3 separate regions of the Homo sapiens genome follow, and regions 2 and 3 are each linked to region 1. Evidence: promoter capture Hi-C in human tissues and cell types (Jung and others, 2019). All regions are on one chromosome and are shown on one strand. The core of a region is centred on a gene start or on the middle of the fragment in contact, and the rest is flanking DNA. Distances in the headings are between cores, read along the strand shown.

The links. Contacts are between HindIII fragments. The study calls those that stand out against the background at their distance.
Region 2: a contact is called between a fragment that was not itself captured here and the fragment with the promoter of B3GNT4 in region 1, in 11 of the 25 tissues and cell types used here (IMR-90 fibroblasts, aorta, dorsolateral prefrontal cortex and 8 more).
Region 3: a fragment that was not itself captured here is called in contact with the fragment with the promoter of B3GNT4 in region 1 in 4 of the 25 tissues and cell types used here (IMR-90 fibroblasts, dorsolateral prefrontal cortex, lymphoblastoid cells and 1 more).

The regions. Positions count from the first base shown.
Region 1 is chr12:122,201,725-122,205,367 of GRCh38, reverse strand. It overlaps B3GNT4 (UDP-GlcNAc:betaGal beta-1,3-N-acetylglucosaminyltransferase 4), which reads right to left and starts at 1,659. Exons shown (of 3, transcript NM_030765.4): 1 at 1,567-1,659; 2 at 684-846. The coding sequence starts at 749. It overlaps LRRC43 (leucine rich repeat containing 43), which reads right to left. Exons shown (of 12, transcript NM_001098519.2): 12 at 1,897-2,053. The coding sequence ends at 1,926. RefSeq lists a silencer at 1,345-1,974. The HindIII fragment of the contact is 16,495 bases long and covers 1-3,643 here.
Region 2 is chr12:122,323,418-122,327,060 of GRCh38, reverse strand. All of the region lies in intron 17 of CLIP1 (CAP-Gly domain containing linker protein 1), which reads left to right. It also overlaps the pseudogene CCDC150P1. Among named protein-coding and RNA genes, the nearest start is that of VPS33A, 59 kb to the right of the region's middle. The HindIII fragment of the contact is 8,257 bases long and covers 1-3,643 here.
Region 3 is chr12:122,282,274-122,285,916 of GRCh38, reverse strand. The region is part of intron 21 of CLIP1 (CAP-Gly domain containing linker protein 1); the gene reads left to right. Among named protein-coding and RNA genes, the nearest start is that of VPS33A, 18 kb to the right of the region's middle. RefSeq lists a silencer at 3,308-3,508. The HindIII fragment of the contact is 5,409 bases long and covers 1-3,643 here.

The DNA.
Region 1 (3,643 bases), core at 410-2,909:
AGACAGGGTCGCTGCCCTCTCAGAGGGGAGCACAAAACGCATAGGAACCAGGTATGTTGAGAAGTTACAGTCTAATGCAGAGAATTGGCTGACGCGGAGGACGGATCCCATAGCCAAGGGTAGCTAAAAAGCCCTCCTTGATGGAGGGACGTTTGAGCAAGAACTGAGTGAGGAATGGCACCTTGCGTGAAGACCTGGGGTCTCTGCAGGCCGTGGGCAGAGTCAGGCAGCTCCAGGGCAGGAGAGAGGGGAGAAAGAAGGGAGACGGGGGCCCAGCAGGTTTACAGTAGGAAGAGGCCAGCCCGGCTAGTGAAAGAGCTAAGGGTTTTGTTGGTTTTTTTTGAGACAGTGTCTCTGTCACCCAGACTCTAGTGCAGTGGCACAATTATAGCTCACTGCAGCCTGGAACTCCTGGGTTCAAGCGATCCTCCGGCCTCGGCCTCCCCAGTAGCTGGGACTACAGGCGTGCAGGGCCCGGCTAATTTATTTTTTGTAGAGATGTGGTATCTTTTGTTGCCTGGGCTGGTCTGGAACTCCTGGCCTCAAGCGATCCTCCCGCCTTGGCCTCCCAAAGCGTTGGGACTACAGGCGTGAGCCACCGGCCAGAGTTTTCTGAGCCCCCTGGAGATCTATGCGGGGGTGGGGGACAAGGGGGTCTGGCAGAGGCGGTGAAAGAATCTGACCTTTGGTAAAAGGCCACTCCTACCGCCCCTTCCCTGGTGGGCTGCGGAAGGCTGGGGAGGAAGCATGAACGGCAGCTGGAGACTGTCTCCGTGCTCAGGATGCCGGGCGGCGGCGGCGGCGGGGTCGAAGCGAGATGAGTCTCAGGTGTGCGAGCACCGCGGGCTGTGGACGAGAGGCCCGGGCGGGCGGCGGTGCCATTCACCGAGAAGGGCGCACAGCAGGTGGCTTGGTTCCGTCCCAGGAGGTTTCAGCCCAGGCTGCGCCGCGGCCCGGGTGGCCCCTGTCCCGCCGCGGGCGTCCCCAGGCGCTGGCCGCACGGCCTCGCCCCGCCGCCCTCCGAGCCGCGGAGACCCCAGAGCCCGGCTCTCCACCCGCCGCGGAGCGCACGACCCCGTCTGGTGGGGCGCGGGTCCTGAGGCTGCGCTCGGCCTTGGGCGGCAGCCGCCTCGGATCCCCACAGGACTCGGTGACCCAAAACGCCCTGGCGCGGGCAGGGGGCGAACTCTGGTTCATTCTTTCAACGCGACAGTCTCCGAAGGGCTGACGGCAGCAGAGACCCACTCTGCGGGGACCCCCGGGCCGGGGTTGGCAGCAGCGCTGCGCGTCGGGCGCGGGCGGCCCAGGCTGGCGGGGTCTACCGCGCCCGGCTCCAGCCTCTGTCCCCAGCCTGGAGAACCGAAGCCGAGCGGCCCGTGGGCCCCGAGCCGTGCCCGCCGAGGCCAGACTCGCGCCGCACCCGGGCGGGGCCGGCGTCCTCGCGGGGACCCTGGGGGACCGGGGAGCGGGCCGCGGGGTGCAAAGGCACGGCCGCCCTGGCGACGCCCCTCCCTGCACGGTGACCCAGCCTCCCTCACAGCAGCGGCGTCCCGGCCCCCAACCTACCTGAGCGTGACGCCGGGGTACGGGCGTGGAGCTCGTGCAGCGGAGCCAGGGCGGATGGCGCCCAGGTGCGCGGAGCTCTCGGGGCTCGGGAGTGGGCGGGGCTTCTGGAGGAGGTGGGAATTTGGGGCGGGGTTCTGGCGGGGGCGGGTTTGGGGCCTCCCCGGACCCAGCCGCGGGTCTCCGCAGCGCCGGAGGCTGGACGCACGCGTCCCGCGCCCGGTCCTGGGGTCCGCACGAGCCGGGTCGGGCAGAGGCTGCTCCTCCTCCCCAGGACGCCGGCGCCACACCCGCCCCCCGACGCGTGCGGCGGGACAGAAGCGGAGGCGGGAGTGCTGGGAACAGCCTTTACTGCCCACGCCCTACACGGCGAACATGCGCAGAGCCTCCTCCGCCGAGCGGCACTGGTTCAGCTGGATCTGCACCTCTACGGTCAGGGGCTCAGGGTGGTAATCGCCTTCGTAGATCGGAATCACGGCTTTCGGCTTTTCTGAGAAAATTTAAGTGCGAGCATGAGCCCCGGGAGACGGATGGGCTGGCGTTCTCGGCCGCCCTGACCCATCCCATATGCAAGCCCTGGACCCTGTCCCAGCGGGAGCACAGTTTTGGTCCTCGGGTGTTAACAGTAATAAGAAATAAAATTAAATTGTATTTAATTAGATCATTTAATAAATCGCAGCTGTTTGAGTTGCAAGACTGGCTGCTTTTTGCTTTGAGACAGTGTCGTGCTCCGTCGCCCAGGCTGGAGTGCGGTGGCATGATCCCGGCTCACTGCAACCTCCGCCTCCCAGGTTCAAGCGATTCTCCTGCGTCAGCCTCCAAGTAGCTGGGATTACAGGCGCCTGTCACCACGACCGGCTATTTTTTGTAGTTTTAGTAGAGACGGGGTTTCACCATGTTGGCCAGCCTGGTCTCGAACTCCTGACCTCAAGTGATCCGCCTGCCTAGGCCTCCCAACGTGCTAGGATCACAGGCGTACACTACCGAGCCCAGCTGCAGATATTTTCTTAAAAATGAAGTAATTATAGCACTTCAGGGGAAACAACTGAAAGCATTTCAATAAATGTATAACATTTGCCCTAAAAATGAGACAACATTGTATCTGCCACCATGAATTTACCAATTTTCCAATACGCAAAGACCTTTCTAATGATGTGGGTGGTGATAGTAAAGAACGTGATCTTTGGAAAATGTATAGTGACAGGTGTCAACTGTTGGAATATCTGCATAAGTCTGTTAACCTGTAGTTTACAAGTAACTCATGCATGTTACAAACTGCATGGTAAAATATCCGTTCAAAATGCAAACTAGATTAATGAATTTTAATCTGATTATGAAAAATTCAATATAGATTGTTTTCACATTGTAACAACCTTTAAGAAATTACCACTTGTCAAATTTGGTGTAATATTAAAGAAATTATATTATTTTAAGGTCTATTAAAATACTCCCTCTTTTCCAATTATGGGCCTGAGGTTGGATTTTCTTTGTGCACGTCAATTACAGCAACATATTGCAAGCAGTTGACTGCAGAAGTAGCTGTAAGAATCCAGCTGTCTTCAATTAAGCCAAACATTAAAGAGATTAAAAAAAAAAAAACCTTTTTAAGGCCATCTTAACCCACAGATAAGTATCACAAATCACATGTTCATATAGGCATGGGTTTTGAAGTCCAGCAGCATATGCCCTCCAACGTTTACTTCTTCAGGCTGGCGTGAAATGGCGCGATCTCAGCTCACTGCCACCTCTGCCTTCCAGGTTCAAGCGACTCTCCTGCCTCAGTCTCCTGAGTAGCTGGGATTACAGGCACCCACCACCGCACCTGGCTAATTTTTGTGTTTTCAGTAGAGACGGGGTTTCACCATGTTGGCTAGGCTGGTCTCGAACTCCTCACCTCAGGTGATCCGCACGCCAAAGTGCTGGGATTACAGGCGTGAGCCACCATGTTGGGCCTGTTTCCACTTTTCGGCTTCAGTATGATGGGTTGCTCTGCTATGATCGGGCCTCATGCTTTTTGCAGCCACCTCCCACGGCACTCCCTGTCTCCTTTCTCTCCCTCCCAGTTGGTTGTTCTTTCTGA
Region 2 (3,643 bases), core at 477-2,976, 120 kb before region 1:
TTTTAATGTGTTTATAGGAGTTTAGTAGAAAGAAATGATAAAAGAGCATATATAGGACTTGAAACCAATCTCATGAAAAGCCTCTTGCTAACTAAGTGGACATGACATGGTATGTGTGTGCCGTGCATGTCATCTGGGAGGCCCATATTCTCCCTCTTCTACATGCTGATAGTTGAGGATTTCTCTTCTTTCTGTGAAATACCTCCAGTTTTATGAGCCATTTAACACTAGATACAATTCCCAGATCTTTTGTCTTTGTGGTTTCCTTTATCTGTGCAGACTTCAGTTTTTTTTTTGTATTTCCTTTAAAATGTTTCAGCCTGAGCAAACCACAGCATCGCAGAAGCTGATGTAAGGTCTCCTCGGTTGTTGTTTGTTTTTTTGAGACAAGGTCTCACTCTGTCACCCAGGCTGAGTGCAGCGGCACAGTCATGGCTCACTGCAGCCTCAACCTCTCGGGCTCAAGTGATCCCCTTGCCTCAGCTTCCCAAGTAGCTGAGACTAAAAGCACGTGCCACTACACCTGGCTAATTTTTTATTTTTTGTAGAGACAGAGTCTCGCTATGTTGCTCAGGCTGGTCTCGAACCCCTGGATGCAAGCGATCCACCTGCTTCAGCTTCCCAAGGTGCTGGGATTGCAGGCGTGATTCATCGTTCCTGGCCAGTCTCACAAGGCGCTGGGGTTGCAGGCGTGAGCCACCATTCCTGGCCAGTCTCACAAGGCGCTGGGGTTGCAGGCGTGAGCCACCATTCCTGGCCAGTCTCACAAGGTGCTGGGATTGCAGGCATGAGCCACCATTCCTGGCCAGTCTCACTGATTTTGTTGGTTGGTTTTGTGCAAGAGTCATTGAGTTAAAAATGCCAGGACTGTTCCCCTCCAAACGTGTCTAGTATCTAATTTCAGTGGATCGTAATCAGTCCCAGACTCTTTGGAATAATCTAATGAAATCTACAGATATTTTTTCAGGAAAGTTTACGTGTGCACTCAACAAGGTTCCTGGAACCCATGAAGCCTCCTATTCCCTACTTTTAAGAGCCAGTGGGCTATAGCTGTGCTGCCTAATGTAGTAGCCACCAGCCATGTGAGGCCATTCAAATGTAAATTTGTAGCCAGTTCTGGTGGCTCACGCCTGTAATCCTAGCACTTTGGGAGGCCAAGGTGGGCAGATTGCCTGAGCACAGGAGTTTGAGACCACCCTGGACAACATCGTGAGACCGTCTCTACTACAAATACAAAAAATTAATTGGGTGTGGTGGCACACACCTGTAGTCCCAGCTACTCAGGAGGCTGAGGCAGGAGAATCCTTTGAGCCTGGGAGGCGGAGGCTGCAGTGAGCTGAGATGGTGCCACTGCACTCTGGCCTGGGTGACAGAGTGAGACTGTCTCAAAAAATAAATAAAAATAAAAACCTTAATATGGGAATATATGCGGTCTACATTATTTTCTCTATTTTTGTATATGCTTAAAAGAGGATCGCTTGAAACTGGGAGGCAGAGGTTGCAGTGAGCCGAGATCGCGCCACTTCCCTCCAGCCTGGGCCACAGAGTGAGACTCTGCCTCCAAAATAAATAAATAAATAAATAAATTTAAATTTGTTACATTTTAATTAAAAATTTAGCTCCTCAGTTGCACTCACCACATTTCAGGTGCTCAGTAGTCATATGGTCACCATGATGGGAGTGCAAATAAGAACATTTATATCAGCTGGGCGTGGTGGCTCATGCCTGTAATCCCAGCACTTCGGGAGGCCTAGGTGGGTGGATCACTTGGGGTCAGGAGTTTGAGACCAGCCTGGCCAACATGGTGAAACCCCGTCTCTACTAAAAATACAAAAATTAGCCGGGCACGGTGGCGGAGCCTTGTAATCCCAGCTACTTGGGAGGCTGAGGCATGAGAATAGCTTGAACCCAGAGGCGGAGGTTGCAGTGAGCCAAGATCGCACCATTGCACTCCAGCCTGGGCAATAGATAGAGCGAGACTCAGTCTCAAAAAAAAAAAAAAAAAATTATATCATTGCAGAAAGTTCTGGATAGCACTGGTATAGACACTGTGGTCAAATTATCTTATAATTCAGTAAATAAAAAAAAAAAACTATTCCTTTTAGTCAGCAAAGCCTAGAAATTAGGCTGTAGTTTTTAAGTTATATGTGATATTGGGACTAAATCACTCTCAGCCCCTCAGCTACCCTTAAGTAAGGTCCTGTGGTGAGTTTGGAAGGCAGTAGTTTATTTTCCCTTGTTATGCCCCTTCCTTTTTTCATTAAAATATACTGAGTTTTTGTACTTCTTTTAATTGTATTTTTAAAAATTGTTCTATGAATCCTTTCTGCTTTCAAAGTAATTTGATAATTGGAATGGCAGGAAAGAATCTTATGCCCTGATATTAAAATCAAGCTACTATTTTTATCTTCTAGGTAGCTACTGGGAATAATTTCACAAGTTGTTTCAAAGATAAAATAAGCTAACAGATACAGAAGCACTTTGCAAAACTACACTTTTGACTTACCTTTTTATGGGCTCTGTTTAGTTTCTTTCCCTTGTTATTCAGATAGTTTCTATAAAGTTTATTGTAGAAATTGTAAAGTTTTTATCATTTAGGTTACATTAAGTTATTTGGGCTTGCATTTGTCTGCTTGATTTCATTTTTGTTTCCATTCTTTCCATCTTTTGTTTCTGTAGTCGCTAACTTATTTGTTAACATCAGCCAAAAAAGAAATTGAACTAATGTCAGAAGAGCTGAGGGGTCTGAAATCAGAGAAGCAGCTTCTTTCTCAGGAGGGAAATGATTTAAAGTTAGAAAACGGTTCACTTTTATCCAAGCTTGTAGAATTGGAGGCCAAAATAGCTTTACTTCAGGGAGACCAGCAGAAACTGTGGTCAGTGAATGAAACTCTTAATTTAGAAAAGGAGAAATTCTTAGAAGAAAAGCAAGATGCCGAAAAGTATTATGAGCAGGAACATCTCAATAAAGAAGCTTTGGCTGTTGAGAGAGAGAAATTGCTTAAAGAAATCAATGTTGTACAGGAAGAACTCTTGAAGATAAATGTGGAAAATGACTCTTTGCAAGCTTCCAAGGTGAGCATGCAGGCACTCATTGAAGAGCTCCAGCTCAGCAAAGATACTTTGATTGCTAAGACTGAGAAGGACCAGGAAGAAAAAGATCACCTGGAGGACCAGATCAAGAAACTTATTACCGAAAACTTCATCTTGGCCAAAGATAAGGATGACATCATTCAGAAGCTTCAAAGGTCTTATGAGGAGCTAGTCAAAGATCAGAAAGCTTTGGTACAGGAGACTGAAGATCTCACAGCTGAGAAAAAGTCAGCTTTAGAGAAATTGTCCAATCTCGATAACACGTGCATAGCCTTAAAGGTAGAACGAGATAATGTTCTTCAGAACAACAGAAATCTGCAGTTAGAGACGGACATGCTGCTTCAAGATCAGGAAAAGCTGAATGCCAGCCTCCAGGCCGCTCTCCAGGTCAAACAGCTGCTCCGCTCAGAAGCCAGTGGGCTCCGCGCACAGCTGGATGATGCCAGCAAGGCCCTGAGGAAGGCAGAGCTGGAGACCGTGCAACTCGAGGCCGCAAACACAAGCCTCACGAAGCTCTTGGAGGAAATTAAGGCCAGGCGGGCGGTCACGG
Region 3 (3,643 bases), core at 1,144-3,643, 80 kb before region 1:
TGGGCCTCGGGGTATTTAATTTTACATAAATAAGATTTTTGTTTCTTTTTTAAAAAAAAAACCCTTATGTAAGGAGTTATCAAGGACACGTGAAAAAATAAATAGGGCTTGTTCCTGCAGCATTCTGGCAAGGGAGCTGTGGCCTGGCACGGTGGTTCATGCCTGTAACCCCAGCACTTTGGGAGGCCAAAAAGGGAGGATCAGTTGAGCACAAGAGTTCAAGACCAGCCTGGGCAACATAGTGAGACTATGTCTCCATTTAAAAAAAAAAAAAAAAAGGTCGGGTGCGGTGGCTCACGCCTGTAATCCCAGCACTTTGGGAGGCCAAGGCAGGTGGATCACTTGAGGTCAGAAGTTCAAGACCAGCCTGGCAATACAAAAATTAGGCCGGGCACCGTGGCTTACACCTGTAATCCCAGCACTTTGGGAGGCCGAGGTGGGTGGATCACAAAGTCAAGAGATTGAGACCATCCTGGCTAACATGGTGAAAGGTGAAACCCCGTCTCTACTAAAAATACAAAAATTAGCTGGGCATGGTGGCATGTGCCTGCAGTCCTAGCTACTCAGGAGGCTGAAGCGGGAGAATTGCCTGAACCCGGGAGGTGGAGGTTGTAGTGAGCCGAGATCGTGCCACTGCACTCCAGCCTGGTGACAGAGCAAGACTCCGTCTCAAAAAAAAAAAAAAAAAGGACTGGTATCTCCCTACATTTATGTAGCACGTCATAATTCACAAATTGATCTAATCTCAAAACAACCCAGTGAAATATAATGGTGGAGCTTGCATTTTTAAATGATGAAATTAGCTGGACATGGTGGCACATGCCTGTAGTCCCAGCTACTCAGGAGGCTGAGGTGAGAGGATCACTTGAGCCCAGGTATTCAGTGCTGTAGTGCACTCTGATCATGCCTGAGAAGAGCTGCTGTACTCTAGCCTGGGCAACATAGTGAGACCCTGTCTCTAAAATAAAATAAATACATAAAATGATGAAACTAAAGCTCAAAAAGTTAGGCAAGTTGGCCAAGGACTCAGGACTAATAAAAGACAGGTGTAGGCTAAAGACTCAGATCATCAGATTTTTTATGCTGGTTCTCTTCTGAGTGAATTTTTAAGCTTTTTATTTATTTATTATTTATGTGTATCTTTTTAAAAAAGAGATGATGTACTTAATGATGAAGTCCTTATCATGTAACTTTAAGTAAATTACATGCCTTTCAAAATATGGTTAGGCATGGGACGCTTTTCATGGCTTAAAAAGATGGAACATGACCAGGTGCAGTGGCTCATGCCTGTAATCCCAACACTTTGGGAGGCCGAGGCAGGTGGATCACCTGAGGTCAGGAGTTTGAGACCAGCCTGGCCAACATGGTGAAACCCCGTCTCTACTAAAAATACAAAAATAGCCGGGCACGGTGGCGGGCATCTGTAGTCCCAGCTACTCAGGAGGCTGAGGCAGGAGAATCGCTTCAACCCGGGATGCAGAGGTTGCAGTGCGCCGAGATCGCGCCATTGCACTCCAGCCTGGGCAACAAGAGCAAAACTCCATCTCAAAAAAAAAAAAAAGATGAAACAAATTTTGGGGCCGTGAAGTTCTCTCTCCTACTTCTCTCTGTTCCTGTTTTATGTCCTCAATGTTTAGGAGGATGTCTCTTGAAAATCACTCTTAATTTTCATCAGAAATTATAGATAAAGATGACTTTTTCTGGGAGTGAAAATTTCACTCCTAGTTTCTCATGTGTAGAAGTGTTTTTTGTTTGTTTGTTAATTAACCCTTATGGAAAGTTATTTCTGTTTTAGAAACCTGAATGTAAATGGATTTTAGATAATAGTTGGGGCCCTTCATTGCCTTCTAAAACTCAGATTGATAAAGGATTCATATGTAGGCCTATGCGTGTAATGGTTAAATAAATGTGTCAACCATTGAGTACCAAAAAGAACTTAATATACTATTAATTTAAAAAGCCTTGCAAATACTTACATTGTGAGTATTTGAAATGTAGTTGGTCATGCAAGAACTGAGAGCTTAGTCAACACTTGAATTCAGAAGTGATCATTAAACGTACATAGTTAAGATAGTAATAGAATCACTATGGCCAAATAGTCATGATATTCAAGTGCAGAACTTACTCCCAACTGTAGGATTAAACTGGTTATCATGAAGAAATTAGAATCCGGCTGGGTGCGGTGGGTCACGCCTGTAATCCCAGTGCTTTGGGAGGATCACCTGAGGTCAGGAGTTCAAGACCAGCCTGGCCAACATGGTGAAACCCCATCTCTACTAAAAATACAAAAATTAGCTGGGTGTGGTGGCGGGTGCCTGGAATCTCAGCTACTCAGGAGTCTGAGGCAGCAGAGTTGCTTGAACTCAGGAGGCGGAGGTTACAGTGAGCCGAGATCGCACCACTGCACTCCAGCCTGGGCAACAGAGCGAGATTCCATCTCAAAAAAAAAAAAAAAGAAAAGAAAGAAAGAAAAAGAAAGGAATTAGTGGAATCCTTCTTTATTTGCTGTGGGGTTTTTTTTCTTTTTGTTTTTTGTTTTTTTGTAACTTTAAACATTGAGTTGCAAGCAGTATGTAGTAAAAAATTTTTCCCCAAGCATAAAAATGTAATCATTTCTTTGAAAAACTCTCAAGTTGGGTAAGCCTTTTAAAACAGGCTCTAAGAGTCTAATGGGTAAAGCAGGGTATGCCTTGCATTGCTCTAATTGCCAGAACTGGGGGAGTTTGTTCATCTGTGCCTCTGAAGCCTGATGCAGATTTGGGAGCCGGTTTGGTTGCTCCATTCTCTAGGCTTTTTAGTGTCAAAGAAGGGGCTCCAAAGCCAAAGGCGCGAGGCATGGATTTTGGAGTCAGAATTCATCCTGTCAGTGCCAGTGCAGGATTTCTGTTAGGAGTAAAAACTGGTTTGACAATAAAGCCCCCAAATTCTGAGGAGGTCCCGTGCTACTTCAGCTCATCCGGCTCACTGTGGGTTGCTAACTGTCTGACTGTCTCCGAGCTTGCGCTACTTACCAATGCTCATTTCACCCCTCTCTTTTCCCTTTCCTACTCTTGCTTCCTTTGCTATATCTGTGTGTCTTTAATGGTAAGACTAAAGAAAGTCTATCCACGTTATAATAAATAAATTTCATATATTTTTAGTAAACCAAATTGTTGTATATATTTTTTGGCTGCCTTTGTCCCTCTGTGTCTTGCTTTTGTTTTGTAAAATATTCTCAGCAGTATATATATATACATATATATATACACACACAAACACACACATATATTTCCTTTTTATATCTATATACAGCAAAGAACTTCAGTGCAAATTTAGTCTCCTTACTGTATTTGCGTTTCTCTTCATGGTTCTAATATTTGGTTCTTGTTATCTTGCATTTTTAAAGCTTGCCCAGTAACACTTTAAGGTATTTGCTTCATTACTGGAATTTGTTTCTTATATAAGTAGTAAGGAAAGAATCTGGGTAAAATGTTCCCTTGGGAGATGGAGAGAGAAAGATTTCTGTTCCCTCTATCCCTTCTTTCATGTTATGTTTATTTTCCCTTCTTGATTTTTTTTGGTAATACCAAGTCATTCCAGCTAATGGCTTAATACGATTTGTGACTCAGACGTCAGTAATGTTGGCATAGACAATGGTTTAATG